2 separate regions of the Homo sapiens genome follow, and region 1 is linked to region 2. The links are contacts of gene promoters, found by promoter capture Hi-C in blood cells and fetal thymus (Javierre and others, 2016). All regions are on one chromosome and are shown on one strand. Each heading gives the region's core, a stretch centred on a gene start or on the middle of the fragment in contact. The rest is flanking DNA. Distances are from core to core; before and after follow the strand shown.

Evidence for each region. Contacts are between HindIII fragments. The CHiCAGO score rates a contact against its expected background, and 5 or more counts as called.
Region 1: the fragment with the promoter of RAB1A here is called in contact with the fragment with the promoter of PNO1 in region 2 in 1 of 17 cell types (M0 macrophages); the score reaches 7.0 in M0 macrophages.

Annotation. Positions count from the first base shown.
Region 1 is chr2:65,128,015-65,131,523 of GRCh38, reverse strand. It overlaps RAB1A (RAB1A, member RAS oncogene family), which reads left to right and starts at 1,418. Exons shown (of 6, transcript NM_004161.5): 1 at 1,418-1,631. The coding sequence starts at 1,609. RefSeq lists silencers at 920-1,269, 1,770-1,819 and enhancers at 1,122-1,635, 1,380-1,639, 1,636-2,150. The HindIII fragment of the contact is 2,599 bases long and covers 1-2,426 here.
Region 2 is chr2:68,156,394-68,159,613 of GRCh38, reverse strand. PNO1 (partner of NOB1 homolog) reads right to left here and starts at 1,726. Exons shown (of 7, transcript NM_020143.4): 1 at 1,473-1,726; 2 at 1,085-1,234. The coding sequence starts at 1,679. It overlaps DNAAF10 (dynein axonemal assembly factor 10), which reads left to right and starts at 2,087. Exons shown (of 8, transcript NM_138458.4): 1 at 2,087-2,353. The coding sequence starts at 2,171. RefSeq lists enhancers at 1,415-1,514, 1,795-2,034, 2,315-2,454, 1,912-2,844. The HindIII fragment of the contact is 6,016 bases long and covers 1-3,220 here.

The DNA.
Region 1 (3,509 bases), core at 169-2,668, 3.0 Mb after region 2:
TGGCAGAATTTGAGGGCTAAGGGGTGTAATTAGTGTATGGGTAGAAATAAGTGCCTTCTTTCTATATTTTGGCGTTGTAGGAATTTAAAGTGATTCTGCAGTAAGTCTCAGGAGACAATTTTCTTAGTTCTTAGAAGTTGGAAGATAAACTTTGGACAATGTATTACACTATGCCCTTTGTAATTAAATAACTCAAGATAATGTGTTAAAGTTTAGCGGAGATTTAAATTCCTGAGCTGATTAAAGAGAGCTGTTAAGGCCATAGGTTTTTTAAAAATGAGTTAATATTACTCCCAGAAATTGTAGGCACTATATAGTGATGAATTGCCTATTTTTATTGCTTATTATTTTCCAGTCTTGCAGAATGGCTCAGGGTTAGTAGCAACTAAAAGATAATACATTACAATTCAACCTGAAGGCCGGGACGAAGGTAGGAATTGGATTTTAGGCTGGCTCTGGGCTGTGTCCCTCCCATCCATGGGATGTGGAGCCATTGAAGGTTGTGGGGTCACGATGCAGGTGCTGTCTCAGAAAGATACATCCGACTGTGTGTGCAAATGGGCTGGGGCGGAGAGGAGAGAGAGAGGTAGAGTCCATTTGGAGACTACTGCAATAGCCAGGCTGACGAGTTAAGAGCGGGGCACAGTAAGAATGGGAAGAAATCTAAGAAGAAAATGGTAGTGCGCGGGGCCAACAATGGACGATGACCGAACCCAGGTGGGGATGGGTGAGTGACGAGAAGAACCGCTCCGTGCCGTCCAGGGAGCCCCTTGACTTCCCTTCTGTTCTTAGAGCGGACGTCCTCCTACCAGCCCCCAACCAGCGCCACCAGGGTGGCGCAAGCCTCAAGCTGGTCAGGTCAGCAACAGCCGCAACGGAGGCAGGAGCCGACACGCTCGTACCCCGGCCCCCTCCCCGCCCCCGCACCCCCGGCAGTCCCTCCGGTTTGACCACTCCCCCCGGTCCCTTGCCTCCCCCGACCCCCAGCCTCCGTCGGCCGCCGGCACCACCCTCCGCCCCTCTCCGCCCCCTCCCCCGTGGGGCGCTGACTCGCCCGGCTGCCACGTCTCACTGATGACATCACTAGGGCAGCTCGGCCTTAGCCAATCCGCCAGGGGGAGTCCGAGCGAAGTCCTAGCCAGCGAGTCAGAGGGGAGGGGAGCAGGGAGGGGCCGAGGGTGGGGAGGTGAGGGAGTGGGGAATGGGGCGGGCGACAACCCTTCAGGTACGCATGCCCCAGAGGCGCGGCGCTTGGCGGGAAGCTGAGTCCTGGCCTTGCGTCGCACTGTCTGTCCTCAGCTCGCGTAGCCGCGCTCGCGACTCCCTTTCCCGGCATGCCAGGCGGTGCGGCCGCCCTCTGGGCCGTGTAAAGGCCCCTCGGTCTAAGGCTTCCCTATTTCCTGGTTCGCCGGCGGCCATTTTGGGTGGAAGCGATAGCTGAGTGGCGGCGGCTGCTGATTGTGTTCTAGGGGACGGAGTAGGGGAAGACGTTTGCTCTCCCGGAACAGCCTATCTCATTCCTTTCTTTCGATTACCCGTGGCGCGGAGAGTCAGGGCGGCGGCTGCGGCAGCAAGGGCGGCGGTGGCGGCGGCGGCAGCTGCAGTGACATGTCCAGCATGAATCCCGAATAGTGAGTTCAGGAGAGCACCGGTCGGCTGGGTCCGTGGGCCAGCTTGGGGGATCTTAAAGGGGTCGAGGAGGGTTGGGGCAGAAGTCGGGGCATCGGCTGGGGTGAGGCGAGGGTGATGGGTCAGGAGAGGCTGGCGGCCGGGAGTCGGGCCCCATTGTCTGACGCGGAGGGGCGGCCGCGCGGGGGAGGGGTCGGGCCGGAGGGGTGAGCCGCCCGGGCCTGGACCGGGTCAGGTTAGAGGGCCTGACTGCGGGGCGGGTGCTGAGGAAGCCTGCCGAGGGGCCTGGGGCGGTGTGAAGGGGTATCTTCTCTCGGAGGCAGTGACTTTTGAAGGAGGACTTGTCTCTAAGGGGAGGGGATGGGGTGGGAGAGCCCTTCTAGAGGGCACTGTCAGACCCTGCGCCCGCACTCTGCGGAGCTGTCAGGATCTTCGGGGTAGAAACCAGCTTTACTTGTAAATCCTGAGCTTGTTGGCTCTCTCTCCTTCCATCCTCCCCGCCAGGTTTCAGGTAATATGGATGCTTTTCGGGACTGCGTGGGATTGAGGGGAATGAGTAGATGGTGAGAAGCAACTGAACATTTATTAGTTCTCTTTTTGAGTTGTGTCTTGGAGGAGTTGTTTAAGAGCTCGCCGGGTCCATTGCCCTCCTATAAAAACCTGGGCATTTGTGAGAATTTTGTTTTTTTTTTTTTTAAAGAGGACACCTAAGTCATTTTGTCTTCTGTGGGTCAAGGGAAAAAAAAAAAACTAAAGCCAAGAAATGTCTTTTTGATACTCGCAGATTAAAGGAAGCTTGCTGTCAAGTTGAAAGAGAAACGAACGGGACCTATGATAGATCTGTATGTAGGTTTTGGATTACCTGCTTGGATGCTTGCAGATAGGGAATGAGGTTCCATGACGTGTCATGAAAAGTTAATGCATTTCTTTTTCTTGCTTACTCAAGAAGTCACCACAGCAGATGTGACACACCTGGCACCTTTCCTGGGAACTGGTGTTCACTTCCCTTGGGTAGAGTTTGTTGGGCTCTCCTCAATGGCCCTTTAAAAATTTCCTCTACAGTTTACATGCATGTAAAGTAATGAATAATTGGAAGAGACCGAATTGGTATTCCTTTTCAGTGTCAAAGGCCTTTGAGGGATGGGGGAACATCAGTATTTGTTGTAAAAGTTGAGTTTATTTGCTGGTTTGGTCAATTACTGCTAGACATTTTCCCCTAAAAGGTCCACCCACCAGTTTAGCTGACTGTCATATGTGTGTCACATGGCTCTTGCAAAATGCTTACAAGTTTTGTAATAGTGTGGCTTGAAGCTGAAATCTTTTGCACTAAACAGAAACCGTAGTATTTTATTAGAATTTCATGTTTTAGAAGTTGAGGGTAGTGTTCTTGTAGTGACATTTGCTGTGTTGACAGTTTAAAAAAAATTTTTTTTCAAGGGCTCCAAGGACAAAGTTGGTTTTGCACAGTTGAACGGAGGTGAACTTGAGGTTCTTAATTTAGTAGTTTTCTTGGTAACAATAAAGAACATGGATTTACTGCTTTATCGAGGTTTATAGACCTCTACTGTTCAGGAAATTTTCTGAATTTGCTATATATATGTTTATTAGTGTAAATAAATCTTCAAGATTAGTTGAGAACTTTGACAAGTTACTCAGCCTCTGAATTTTTTTTCCCTTTTGTAAAATAGGATAATTGGAGTCATTATTCCTGTCAGGGTAGTGGTGAAATTCAAATGTATATAAAAGAATTTGAAAAACCGTGTGAGCATTCTTCAGGTGGTATGCATCATTTTCATGAAAGGCATTCTATTAGTACCAGGATTTAGGAATATAATCCTTGCGCTTAAGAAGTTTAGATATAGGCCAGGCGCGGTGGCTCA
Region 2 (3,220 bases), core at 477-2,976:
TTCGGTTATCGATTCTGGTATGAAATTGGCACCCAGAAAAGAAAGCCCAAAGTAAATTTAAATGTCTAATTCCCGGATTGATAGCACAGAATTTAAAATATATACATAGGCTCGGTGGGGCAGCTCACGCCTGTAATCCCAGCACTTTGGGAGGCCGAGATGTGATCACCTGAGGTCAGGAGTTCGAGACTAGCCTGGCCAACATGCTAAAACCCAGTCTCTACTAAAAATACAAAAATTAGCCAGGTTTGGTGGCAGGCACCTGTTAACAGTGAGCCAAGATCATGCCACTCACTCCAGCCTGGGTGAAAGAGCAAAATAAAAAGATATATATACACACACACACACACACACACACATATATATGCATGTTTCTTATCAAAATAATACATTTTTTAATCAAAAGAGCACCATTAAAACACAGTCATGCACTGCATAATGACATTTTGATCAGTGACCAACCGCTCATACCATGGTGGTCTCATAACAGTATAATGGAGAATATACAGAAACCTGATATATGGCACTGGATACCGGCAATGCAGATCAAGTAGATGAAATGACTGATATTCAGTAATGGTGCTGGGACATTTGGTTTTCCATATGAAAAAAATATATAAACAAATATACACATACCATCTAGGTTTGTGTAAGTACACTCTATAATATTCGCACAAGGACTAAGTCATCTGACAAAACATATCCCAGAACATATTCCCGACGCTGACTGTATATACTTCTTGTAAAGCAGCAAGTGCTTATATTCATTATTTACCTGCTTCTGTTTATGGCAATCTCTTTACTCGACCTTTTCTCAATTTGACATAGAACATTATAAAAGATACACAGAAGAAGAGCCAGTATTTTGGTGTGATCTCAGAACTAATTTACAAATTCAATTAATATTTGTATCGAATGCAGATTTTTAAGGCATTTGGGAAGTTCAAACTCAATATGGTAAATTTTTAAACTGGACAAAAACCATACAACAGAAAAGTCCCATTAAGTAAAGCCTATTCATGCCTTTTCATCTCTGTAGGAGAGAAAGCCTGGTGTATTGGGAAATGATTGAGATTTTCCTTACCCTGATTTCTACATTCCTTGATTTCAAGTTAAAGCGTATCTGAAGTCCCAAATGTTCCACAATAGGAGTAAATATCTTCATCCAGTTTTCTTTCAATGGTGTGTATCTGTTAGCTGGGACTGGAATTTTCCTTGTTTCTTCTTTCCCACTCTGTAAATAAAAGAACACACAACTCAGAAGGCTATGGAGGGACGGTGATGGAGTTTAAAATGACATCTGATCCACAAAGGGCCTCCTTTAACTGAACTAGTTACACTTCAAAGAATCACTTCTCTCTGAGCATCACGGCAGAACAGCCCCACCGCAGCTTCAACATTCTCCAGAGGCCATCGGCTTGATCCGCGTCTGGCCCTTGCCTCGTTGCTGTCCTAGGGTCCCAGCCACATACCAGGAGCCCGTCCCCACAGAGGGGTGGGAAGACGGGCCTCTTCGCCGGCCTGGCCTCCTCTGTGTCCATGCGGCCCGCATCCCCGCCCTCTCCTGCTGCGGACAGCTGTTCAGCCTGTCGTTTCTTCGCCCGTCGGCCACCCTTGCGGGTGACCTGGGTAAAGCCCTCCTCTGCCCTGGCGCTCTGCGTTTCCATTTCGGATTCCATCCCCGGAAATCTTAAAGCGCTGCCGGCTGAAACACGTGCGCAGCTGCACCACGCAGAAGCCAGCCTCAGCCAACCACCCCTGCAGCTCCGCCCCTTTCCTAAAACGTCACAGGCCGGGGACCTGCAGGATTTGGGGCCGGTGGGGGGGAAAACGGGGTTAGGCTGTCCTAAGATATGCCTGATGGTCTTGGGCTCACTCCAGCCGCGCAACTCCCAGCCCAAGTATTTTGTAATCTCTAGTATGTATGTGTGCGAAAGGCAGTGGGTAAAGGCGATAAACAAATTCGTGCTGTTGTGAAGGAACATTCTGTGCGATCGCAGGAGCGCATCTGGCATTATCCGGGGATAACTACAGCCAACATGCCAGGGCATCTGGGGCAGAATACGGAAAGCGGGAGGGACAAATTGCCAATGTTTGGAGTCTGGTTTCCAGGTTGCCGTTTTTGGGGGCTCTGGGTGTGGCGGTTGCCGTAGCTGAAATTGGCTGCACCATGTCGGCCTTCGAGAAGCCTCAGATCATCGCCCATATCCAGAAGGGCTTCAACTACACGGTGTTTGACTGTAAGTGGGTGCCCTGCAGCGCCAAATTTGTGACCATGGGCAACTTCGCACGGGGCACCGGCGTCATTCAGCTGTACGAGATCCAGCACGGGGACCTGAAGCTGCTTCGGGAGGTGGGTGCCGGGTCGAGGATCCGGACTGCCGTTGGGGGCGAGTGCGGATCCTGGGGTCTGCATTCCTCTTTGCCAGAGCCTTCGCCCAGCGTCCCCCAAAGCATGGCTTGAGCCGCGCGAGACCAGAGAAGCTGACCGCCGACTGAGGAATGTTTCCTATTTAAAACCTTTCTTCTCATCCGCGGGGTAGTTCCTCCGCGCCCAACCGTCCTGCCACCCCCAGTGCAGTCCAGCCAAAGCGGGCACCAGGATGCCTGCAGTGTGGTTGGAAGAGGCAACCTAACACATTCGACAGGCATCAGCTGAGTGCCTGGTATTCCCAGGGATGTGAATGGTAATGTCCCCCATCTCATGGAGTTTATTTTCTAGTGGGAGAGATACTCAGTTCAATAATCAAAGCAACGATACATAAATACAAACCGAGATGAGTTGTCTCACACAAAGGAACACGGTTACGGTTCAATGAGAGTGAAAACAGATTTGGGATGAATGAAAACAGATTTTGGTATGTGCAGAAGCTAACTAGGTCAAACTAGGAGTAAAGGACAAGGTTTCCAGGGCTTCTGCACATGCAGAAGCTCAGTGATGGGAAGAAGTTTATCTCCTTAAGAAACTAGAGGGATAAGCAGGAACCAGACATTGCAAGATCTGTAGGACATTCAAAGGATTTATGCCTTTTTTCTAAGAAAAAACGGACACAACTGAAAGGATTTAAGCAGGGTGTGGAAAGATTAGGTTTGCAAGGTTTTTTTGAAGATTACTAGTGAAAGAATTAGAGAATAATGATAGTAACTAGCATTTTATAGCTGTTTATAGTTTTTAAAAAGTGTTGATTTTGTTACCTGAAAAAATGATCAGTCATTATCA